Regions from separate parts of the Homo sapiens genome. Here region 2 is linked to region 1. The links are contacts of gene promoters, found by promoter capture Hi-C in human tissues and cell types (Jung and others, 2019). All regions are on one chromosome and are shown on one strand. The core of a region is centred on a gene start or on the middle of the fragment in contact, and the rest is flanking DNA. Distances in the headings are between cores, read along the strand shown.

Evidence for each region. Contacts are between HindIII fragments. The study calls those that stand out against the background at their distance.
Region 2: a fragment that was not itself captured here is called in contact with the fragment with the promoter of CXCR1 in region 1 in 1 of the 25 tissues and cell types used here (IMR-90 fibroblasts).

The regions. Positions count from the first base shown.
Region 1 is chr2:218,164,042-218,169,705 of GRCh38, forward strand. CXCR1 (C-X-C motif chemokine receptor 1) reads right to left here and starts at 2,921. Exons shown (of 2, transcript NM_000634.3): 1 at 2,867-2,921; 2 at 1-1,203. The coding sequence starts at 1,170. The coding sequence ends at 118. The HindIII fragment of the contact is 8,483 bases long and covers 1-5,664 here.
Region 2 is chr2:218,202,270-218,207,790 of GRCh38, forward strand. No RefSeq gene overlaps it. Among named protein-coding and RNA genes, the nearest start is that of ARPC2, 12 kb to the right of the region's middle. The HindIII fragment of the contact is 3,750 bases long and covers 1,415-5,164 here.

The DNA.
Region 1 (5,664 bases), core at 1,671-4,170:
AGCGTCCCCCCAAAACCCAGATAGTGCCTGTCCAGAGCCAGATCACCTTCCACACACAACCTCAGGGTGTTGGTTATTCTTTCCTTCTGAGAAGAGATATTCCTTCATCGATGGTTTTCAGAGGTTGGAAGAGACATTGACAGACGAAGAAGTGTAGGAGGTAACACGATGACGTGCCAAGAACTCCTTGCTGACCAGGCCATGCATAGCCAGGATCTTGAGGAATCCATGGCGAAAATTTTGGCCGATGAAGGCGTAGATGATGGGGTTGAGGCAGCTATGGAGAAATCCCAGAATCTCAGTGGCATCCAGGGCCCGGCCGATGTTGTTGCGGCGCTCACAGCTCTCCTGGATCACCTGGGTCCTCATGAGGGTGTCTGCCAGCAGGACCAGGTTGTAGGGCAGCCAGCAAAGCAGGAAGATGAGGACGACAGCAAAGATGACCCTCATGGCTCGGTGCTTCTGCCCCATGTGGGCCTTAAACAGTGTACGCAGGGTGAATCCATAGCAGAACAGCATGACAAACAGCGGCACGATGAAGCCAAAGGTGTGAGGCAGGATCCGCAACACCATCCGCCATTTTGCTGTGTCATTTCCCAGGACCTCATAGCAAACTGGACTGGAATTGTTTGGATGGTAAGCCTGGCGGAAAAGGAAGAAGGGCAGGGACAGATTCATAGACAGTCCCCAGCAGCCAAGACAAACAAACTTGACCAAGTGACGCTTCTGGGTCAGTGTGCGTGTGGCATGGACAATGGCCAGGTAACGGTCCACACTGATGCAGGCCAACAGCAGGATGCCACTGTAGAAGTTGACTTCCTTCAGGAGTGAGACCACCTTGCACAGGAATGTGCCAAAAATCCAGCCATTCACCTTGGAGGCGGCCCAGATGGGCAAGGTCAGGGCAAAGAGTAGGTCGGCCAAGGCCAGGTTCAGCAGGTAGACATCAGTGACGGAGCGGCCGACCCTGCTGTATAAGATGACCAGCATCACCAGGGAGTTTCCCAGCAGGCTCAGCAGGAACACTAGGGCATAGGCGATGATCACAACATACTTGTTGAGTGTCTCAGTTTCTAGCATACAGGGGCTGTAATCTTCATCTGCAGGTGGCATGCCAGTGAAATTTAGATCATCAAAATCCCACATCTGTGGATCTGTAATATTTGACATGTCCTCTTCAGTTTCAGCAATGGTTTGATCTAACTGGAAGGTTAGAAGGAAGGAAATGTGATTTAGTAGCTCGGATTCAAGGCATTCTCATCAATGATGTGAGAGCAGTTACTGGGATATCCTTGGCTTCCCTGTTGGTTTGGCAATGAGAGCTCTCCTTCCTCCTTTGACTCCAACCTGGTCTTCTTCGGAGGTTGGCTTCCCAGTGTTCTCCACCTTCCACAACTCTAAGGCCTGGCCTGAGTGTGGGGTAAGATGGAATATGGGGAAAACACCTTAGCCCTAGCTCAACCTACAACTGCCTCCTCTCAGCCTATGTCTCTACCTCTGTCCCTCTTTAGCCTTCTCCATCCTCAGCTGTGTCTGTGCATTTGGATGTGGGGACCAGGTTGGTCTTAGACATTCAGGGAAGGGCCAGCATTAAGCAAAATGCAAGAAGGCAAACCTGTTCCCAGGTGTCCCCTTCTACTATTTCTATTCCTATGTTCTCCCTGATTCTTGTTTACCCTCCTTAAAATCTACTGGGGGAAGGAAGTGATAACAACACATTGCATTAAACTGTATATTTTAAGCCTTCTTTAAATGAGGAGCACATATTTTGTTCCTCTGTCTAAAGGAGTTTTAAGTATTTGAGAAGATAAAGTCTCCATCTTGGTCCCTGAAACCCTCCACCCCTGAAAAAATCCACAGAATCATTCAAGAGTTTTCAAATATATTTCCTATTGTGAAATAGTTTACTGAAATAAGATCTTCCCAGAAGCCCAGTATGTGAAGCAGATAAAAGCTGAGCCACTGTGGGGCAGAGTGTGCTAATCTCCGAACCCAGATGGCCCCTAAAGAGCCCCTCAAAGCTCCAGGACTCTCCAGAGAAGTCTGAAAGCCTTTGGAAAGTCACCGAGGTTGGTTGTAAAGACACCTAGCATCCAGTCTTCATTCCATCCTGATTCTACCATTAATAAGTTTCGTGTGTAATCCCAGCCCTTTGGGAGGCCAAGGCAGGCAGATCATGAAGTCAGGAGTTCGAGACCAGCCTGACCAAAATGATGAAACCCCGTCTCTACTAAAAATACAAAAAAATTAGCTGGGTGTGGTGGCGTGCACCTGTAATCCCAACTACTCAGGAGGCTGAGGCAGGAGAATCACTTGAACCCGGGAAATGGAGGTTGCAGTGAGCCGAGATCGTGCCACAGTACTACAGCCTAGGCGACAGAGTGAGACTCCATCTCAAAATAAATAAATAAATAAATAAATAAGTCTCATGACCTTGAGTGGGGTCTCGTACCCCTATAGATTTCAGTCTTCTCATCTGCAAATCGAGGAAGACAGAATCATCCACCTCTCATTTGCTGCCAGGCCTGAGGGTGTATGATGAGTCCACTCAGATCCACACATTTTAGTGTGTTCCCTCCCTACCAGTATTTGCATTTTCACTGAAGACAAAGTCTTAAGGTGAAGCAATAAACATCAAATTGGGGAATGGTCAGCCTCTTCCCACAAAAGGGCAAGGTATAAAAAGAGGGGATGAGGAGGCTGTCCTCTTCACCTGCTAACTCCATGTATGAGTGGTGGTCACAAGAGAGGAAGCGGGCAGCAGAAATCCTCAGCTCCCACAGAAATGAATACATTTTCCAAAATAAAGTCAAGCCAAGCAGCCCTACCCCACAGAAAGTCCTAGCAAACAGAGGTGGCTTCCTACCTGAAGCACCGGCCAGGTGTGTCCAACAGTAGGAGCTGCAGTCAGAGATCAGAGTGACTTAACAGCTAGAGGGCACTTGATGAATAAACGGAAATAAGGAAACCACATCAGATGACACCTCCCTTCTGAGCCCCACCCATGTCTACATTTGGGGAAGAACAGTTTAAGTCAAGGGATCACAGACTTGTGATTAGAGACTGCCAGGGTCCATATGACCAAGTGGGGGTCCCAGGTGTGAAGCTGGGGTTGAGGGTCCATTATCTGAATTCTCCACTCTATGGATGATCATTTTTATTATTTTCCTTTTCTTGAATTTATTTCCATTTGTTTATTCCTAAATTCCCTAGTATATCACCTGTGGAAGCTTGCAACTTCCTGACCAAGTATAAAGGGCGAAGGATTTGACTTACAGCAGAGACTTCAGAAGGAGTCCCCCATAGGAGGGACTTGGGGGCAATCCAGTGGGAAAGAGGAGGAGGACTGCGCTTGAGTTGTGTTTGAACAGCAGGCACTCAATCTCTACTTATTTTGCAGGCTTCTTTGAGGTGGCCTAGCTCGGATTCAAGGCATTCTCATCAAGGATGTGAGAGCAGTTACTGGGATATCCTTGGCTTCCCTGTTGGTTTGCCAACGAGAGCTCCCCTTCCTCCTTTGCCTCCAACCTGGTCTTCTTTGGAGGTTGGCTTCCCAGTGTTCTCCACCTTCCACAACTCCAAGGCCTGGCCTCAATCTCTACTTATTTTTCAGGCTTTTTGAGGGTATTTGAATGGAACACAAACCCTCCTTTGCCGCCAGCCACTCTTTCGCACAATCACTGCCAATGACCAGTTGGTTTAAATGGCCCTGAGGCTGACGGCATAGGCCACTCCCAGAGTCTGGCTGGTTAGCAGAGAGACCACAGAGCTGGGGCAGTCCATGAATGGAAGAGCTGTGGTCAAGGTCACTGCAGCCCCCATCTCAGTAACGGAGAATGGCTTCTCTGGGAACCCACCTTAGCTGCCTCCAGCAGCTAATGGCTGTCCCCTAGCTTGAGTCTTCTGGCACCTTCGTCACTTCTCCATATAACATGAACCCTGCTGTGAGGCATTTACAAGTCAGCCCTCTTCTAGCTTGGGAGCCATGAGACAGCAAGAACCTTCTTCAATTCATGTTTATGTTCTCTTTCAGGGAATATAGTAGGTGCTCAATCAATGGTTGTGGAATAAATGAAGGGAGACATTTCTCCTGTGATTCATGGACCATAAGTCACCACCACGATTCAGTGTCTATTGCTTTTGGCTACACACTAAAGTCACTGGTATGCCTGATAGCTTCACTTCCACACAGCCCAGTTGGTCTGCCTGGCATTGCTTCTTTCCAACCTTCCTCTAATGTTTGGAGCTAATGCCAGTCTGTGCAAGTATAAATCCTGCCCTACCACAAATGCCAAATTTACCATGCCATGGATTCCTACAGTTCTGCACTGGAAAGAATTTTTTTCTTTTTTTAAGAGACAGGCTCTCACTGTGTTGCCAAGGCTAGAATGCAGTGGTGTGATCATAGCTCAGTGTAACCTCAAATGCCTGGGCTCAAGCAATCCTCCCACCTCAACCTCCTGAATAGCTGGGACTACAGGCAAGAGCCACTACATCTGGCTTTCTTTTTTTATATTATATTTTTATTTTTATTTTTTATTTAGTTATTTATTTATTTGTAGAGAAAGGGTCCTGATATACTGCCCAGGCTTATCTTGAACTCCTAGCCTCTAGTGATCCTCCTGCCTTTGCCTCCCAAAGCACTGGGATTACAGGCATAAGCCACCATGCCCAGCCGGCAAGCCTATTTTTTAAGCTAAGTTGTGCTTTCCTCCTGGGCTCTTTTATCATTCATAGATGGTAACAGGAAGTGTAAGGGGACAATAGCCACTCATGCTTTGCTTTTACTGATGTTGGACTATTGTGCTCTAACGCCTAGACTAGAAAGGAGTCAAAGATGGGGTAGTCCCAGGAGGTGGGAGACTCCCTCTATTAATCATCTAGGGAAAATCAGCCCCAAGGGCAGAAAATAGTCACTGGGGACACAGGAGAAAAAAGACGGGGGCCTAGACTGCAAAACACCTGCCTATACTCAAGAAAGACCCTGAGGCCGGGAGAAGGATAGTTTTTGCCACAAGGGGGCAGCAGTTGCTAGACAGGGAATCCCCTGTGAGACACCCCCTTGAGAAAGACCAGGGCCAAGAGCAGGTATATTTAACACCGTATGTTAAGTTCTTCTTGGTGTATAGTTCCCTTCTGCTTTTCCTAAACCCTCAGTAAGTCGGTTCACTATTCCAGTCTATTTCAAGGAATCACTGAGGGGTTAGGGAAGAGGCTGGTCTCCTGGAGCCCGAGGAGTGAAGGGGAGCAGCCCTGCTGCATGAGTGTGGTGAGGGCAACAGCAATGCTGGGGTCTCCAGGAGAAGTTGCATCTGGAGGACAAGGGTGGAAAGAACCTTTCACTTCGCAGTAGGACGAGCATTTCACTGAAGGAGGGAGAAAGCACATATAGATGAGTTTAGAATAAAATTTTACCCACTTCAAAATGTTCCAGCAAGTCAGCCCACCCAACCTATCTTCTATACCTCACTTCCCACTTATAACTGTGCCCTCTTAAAATGGCCTAGAATGTTCCTGCTGAGAAGCATTTTTCCATTCCATGTAGAGCTCCTAATGCCACAAAGAAAGCTGTGACAGGTGCAGCCCGAATGCCAGTCAACTGGCAAAATGTAGTATCTCTTTGGGTGACATCTTCTTACCACTCTGTTTTAAACATGATGACTT
Region 2 (5,521 bases), core at 2,040-4,539, 39 kb after region 1:
ACTGCCATCATCTCCTATCCAAATAGAGTATCTTTCGGCCTGGCACAGTGGCTCACACCTCCCAGCACTTTGGGAGGCTGAGGCAGGAGGACTGCTTGAGCCCAGGAGTTTGAGATCAGCCTGGGAAACATGCCAAGACCCTGTCTGTATTAAAAATCAAAAGAATTAGTCAGGCATGGTGGTGTGGACCTGTGGTCCCAGCTACTTGGCAGGCTAAGGCTGTAGGATTGCTTAAGCCTGAGAGATCAAGCCTGCAGTGAGCTATGATTACGCCACTGCACTCCAGCCTGGGTGACAGGGCAAGACCCTGTCTCGAAAATAAATAAATAAATAAATAATTTTTAAAAAATATCTCCTTAATCTCCACTGTCACATTTGCTCCTCCTAACTTAACTGGATCAAGTCATGAGAACACCTCAGGCAAGTTAATAATTTCCCGTTCCTTCAACTCAACATTTTTTCAGTAGAGACAAGGAGAAATTTTCTACTAACAAAAGTGATGCATCTCTCTTTTTTTTTTTTTTTTTGAGATGGAGTCTCGCTCTGTGACCCAGGCTGGAGTGCAATGGCCTGATCTAGGCTCCCTGCAACCTCCACCTCCTGGGTTAAAGCGATTCTCCTGCCTCAGCCTCCCGAGTAACTGGGACTACAGGCGCGTGCCAACACACTCGGCTAATTTTTTGTATTTTTAGTAGAGACGGGGTTTCACTGTGTTAGCCAGGATGGTCTCTATCTCCTGACCTCATGATCCACCCACCTCAGCCCCCCAAAGTGCTGGGATTACAGGCGTGAGCCACCGCGCCCAGCCACATCTCTTTCTATACCAAAACGAGAGGTTCAATATATGCGATTTTCCAAAGCAGGTAACTCCTTGGGAGACCCATTAAACCACTTAAAATTTAAACAACAGGCTGGGCACAGTGGATCACGCCTGTAATCCCAGCACTTTGGGAGGCTGAGGCGGGGGATCACTTAAGCCCAGGAGTTCAAGACCAGCCTGGGCAACATAGTGAGACCCCATCTCTATTAATTAAAAAAATTTTTTTTGTTTAGTCACTCATTTTCTGTAAATAGCACAACCTATTGTATTACATAGGTTCAGACCTTCAGCTTAATGTACTTGATGGCAGTTCTTGGCTGACTCATCTCAGGTTTGGAGGAACAGTTGGTACACGTCTATCACAAGTTTTTAATTTTAAGAAAGAACAATTTGGCTGGGCACAGTGGCTCACACCTGTAATCCCAGCACTTTGGGAGGCTGAGACAGGTGGATCACCTGAGGTCAGGAGTTCGCAACCAGCCTGGCCAACATGGTGAAACCCTGTCTCTACTAAAAATACAAAAATTAGCATGGCATGGTGGCGCACACCTATAGTCCCAGCTACTTGGGAGACTGAGGCAGGTGAATCACTTGAACTCGGGAGGCAGAGGTTTCGGTGAGCCGAGATCGCACCACTGCACTCCAGCCTAGGCAACAGAGTGAGACTCTGTCTCAAGAGAAAAAAAAAAGAAAGAAAGAAAGAACAAGTTATCTTTTTCTTTCTCTGTTGCTCAAGATTTGAGTGCCAAATCTGAGGTCATGAAGATTTACCTCATGTTTTCTTCTAATAGTTTTATCATTTACATTTAGGTTGTTGATCCAGTTTGAATTAGTTTTTGCATGTGGAATGAGGCAAGGGTATGAATTCATTTTTTCTTTTGCATGTGGTTATCCCATTGTCCCACCACAATCTGTTAAAGAGACTCTTCTTTCCTCCCATTAAATGGCACCCTTGTAAAAAATCAATTGACCATAGATGTTTGGTTTTATTGCTAAACTCTCAATTCTATTTTATTGGTCTATATGTGTCTGTCTTTATACAAGTACCACACTTCAGCGTGGGCAATATAGTGAGACCTCAACTCTCCAGAAAAAAAAATATTTTTTTAATTAGCCAAATGTGGTAGTGTGCACCTGTAGTCCCAGCTACTTGGGAGGCTGAGATGGGAAAATCACTTGAGTCCAGGGCCCAGGGGTTGCAGTGAGCCAAGATTGTGCCACTGCACTCCAGCCTAGGTGACAGAGTTAGGCCCTGTCTCAAAAACACCTTCCTGGGAAGTTTGGAAATCAGGTACCTTCCTGGTAAGTTTGGAAATCAGGAAGTGTGAGTCTTTCAATTTTCTTTTTCTTTTTAAATATTGTTTTGGCTATTCAGAGGTCCCTGCAGTTCTCTGGGTATTGTTTTTTGTTTTTTGTTTTTTTTCTTTTTGAGACAGAGTCTCGCTCTGTTGCCCAAGCTAGAGCGCAGTGGCGTGATCTCGGCTCACTGCAGCCTCCGCCTCCCGGGTTCAAGCAATTCTCCTGCCTCAGCCTTCCAAGTAGCTGGGACTACAGGCATGCACCACCATGCCCAACTAATTTTTGTATTTTTAGTAAAGACAGGACTTCACCATGTTGGCCAGGATGGTCTTGATCTCCTGACCCCATGATCTGCCCACCTCAGTCTACCAAAGTGCTGGAATTACAGGCATGAGCCACTGTACCCAGCCTGTCCCTGCAGTTTTATAGGAACTTGAGGATAAGTTTCAATTTCTCCAAAAAAAAGACCATTGGAATTTTGATCGGGATTACATTGAATCTATAGATTGCTTTGGGGAATATTGCCATCTTAACAATATTAACACTCCCAACCCATGAACATGGGATGTCTTTCCATTCATTTAGGTCTTCCTTAGTTTCTTCCATCAATGTTTTTAGTTTTTGGTGTACAAGTCTTTCACCTCCTCAGTTAAATTTATTCCAAGGTAATTTATTCTCTCGGATGCTACTGTAAATTGAATTGTTTTCTTAATTTCCTTTTCAGATTGTTCACTGCTAGTGTAAAGAAACAGAGCTCATGTTTGTATGTTGGCCTTGCACCAACTTTGCTTAATTCCTTTACCAGCTATAGTAGGTTTTTGAGATTCTATGGGATTTTCTATACAGAGAGCCAAGTCATCTACAAATCGTGGTAGTTTTACTTCTTATTTTGCTATTTAGAGGCCTTTTATTTATTTTTCTTGCCAAATTGCTCTGTCTAGGACTTCCAGTATAATGTTGAATAGCACAGATGACAACAGACATCTTTGTCTTGCTTCTGATTCTAGAAACTAAGCTTTTAGTCTTTCACCATTGAGAATGATGTGTTGTGGGATTTTTTTCATAAATGCCCTTTATCATGTAAAGGAAGTTCCCTTTTATCTTAACCCATTCTGCTGCTATCACAAAATACCTTAGAGTGAGTAATTTACAAATAATAGAAATGTATTTCTGCCAGGCACAATGGCTCATGCCTGTAATACCAACAATTTGGGAGGCCAAAGTGGGAAGATTATTTGAGGCCAGGAGTTCAAGACCACCTCAGGTAACATAGCGAGGACTTATCTCTATTAGACATTTAAAAATTAGCTAGGCATGATGGCAGGCACCTACAGTCCCAGCTACTTGGGAAGCTGAAGTGGGAGGACTGCTCGAGCCAAGGAGTTTGAGGCAGCAGTGAGCCAGGATCTTGTCACTGCACTCCAGCCTGGGCAACAGAGCGAGACCCTGTCTCCTCACCACCAAAAAGAAGAAAGAAATTTGCTTCTCACAGTTCTGGAGGCTGGGAAGTCCAACACCAAAATGCCAGAAGATTTGGTGTTTGGTGAGGGCCTGTTCCATATATAGCATTTTCTTGAGGCATCCTCACAATAAGCAGGAAAAGGTAGAAGGGCAAAAGGAGACCAACACGGTGTCCTCACGTAGCAGAAGAGATTAAAGGGGAAAGGGGAGCCAGTTAGTTCTCTCAAGCCCTTTTATGAGGGCACTAATAACCTCCTTCAGGACCCACATCTTAATTCTATTGCATTGGGGTTGAGTTTCAACATATGAATTTTGGAGGGACACATACATTCAAATCATAGCACCTACTATTTCCAGTGTTCTGAGTTTTTATCATCAAAAGGTGCTGAATTTTATCAAATGCTTTTTCTGCATCTATTGAGATGACCATGTTTTTTCTTGTCATTTTATTATTGTGGCATATCACATTGATTGATTTCCTTGTGTTGAACCACTCTTGGTTTCTGGGATAAATTCCACTTAGACATGGTATGTGATTCTGTTTGTTTGTTTGTTTGTTTGTTTGTTTGTTTGAGACAGGGTCTCATTCTGGTTGTCCAGGCTGGAGCACAGTGGTGCAATCTCAGCTCACTGCAACCTCTGCCTCCAGGGTTCAAGTGATTCTCATGTGTCAGCCTCCATAGCTGGAATTACAGGCACATGCCATCACACCAGCTAATTTTTGTTTTTTTGTAGAGATAGCATTCCCCATGTTGGCCAGGCTGGTCTCAAACTCCTGACCTCTAGCGATCCTCCTGCCTCAACCTCCCAAAGTCATGGGATTACAGGCGCGAGCCACCACACCCAGCCAATTATTATAAAGTGCTATTGGATTTAGTTTGCTAGCATTTGGTTGGGGATTCCTGTGTCTATTCATAGAGATATTGGCCTGAATTTCGCTTCTCTCATGGCATCTTTGTCTGGATATCAGAGTAATACTGGCCTCATAGAATGTGTTAGAAAATGTTCGTTCCTCTTCCATTTTTTGGAAATGTTTGAGTAGAGTTGGTGTTAATTCTTCTTTAAATTGGCTAAAAATGTGTTGTTCAATTTCCCTGTCTTTGTGAATTTTCCAGTTTTTTTCTTCTGCTATTTATTTGTATCTTCATTCCACTGTGGTTGAAGAGGATACTTTGTATGATTTTGATTTTTTTAATGTATTGAGAATCATTTTCTGGCCTAGCATATGTTCTATCCTAGAAACTGCTCCATGTACACTTGAGAAGTATATTCTGCTGTTGTTATGTGGAGTGATCTGTGTTATCTGCAGTCTAGTTAGTTTATGATGTTCTTCAAGTCCTCTATTTCCTTGCCAATCTTCTGTCTAGGTGTTCACTCTATTATTGAAAGTAGGACATTGAAGTCTCCAACTATTATCGTAGAACTATTTTTCCCTTTAATTCTGTCCATATTTGCTTTATATATTTTGGACTCTGTTGTTTGATGTGTATATGTTTATAATTATTATATTTTCCTGATGAATTGATCCTATTATCAATATAAACACTTTTTGTCTCTTATAACAATTCTTGACTTAAAATATATTCTTTCTGATACTAGCATAGCCATTCCAGCTCTATTTTGGTTACAGTTTGCCTAGAATATCTTTTTTTTTTTTTTCAGAGACACAGTCTCACCCTGCCACCCAGACTGGAATGTAGTGGCACAAACATAGCTCACTGCAGCCATGGCTGCATAGTATTCCCGGACTAAAGCAATCCTTCCACCTCAACCTCTCCAGTAGCTGGAACCAGGTGTGCACCACCATTCTTGGCTAATTTTTTTTATTTTTAGTAGAGACAGGGTCTTGCCATGTTACCTAGGCTGATCTCAAACTCCTGGCTCAGGTGATCTTCCTGCCTTGGTCTTCCAAAGTGCTGGGACTGGCCAGGCATGGTGGCT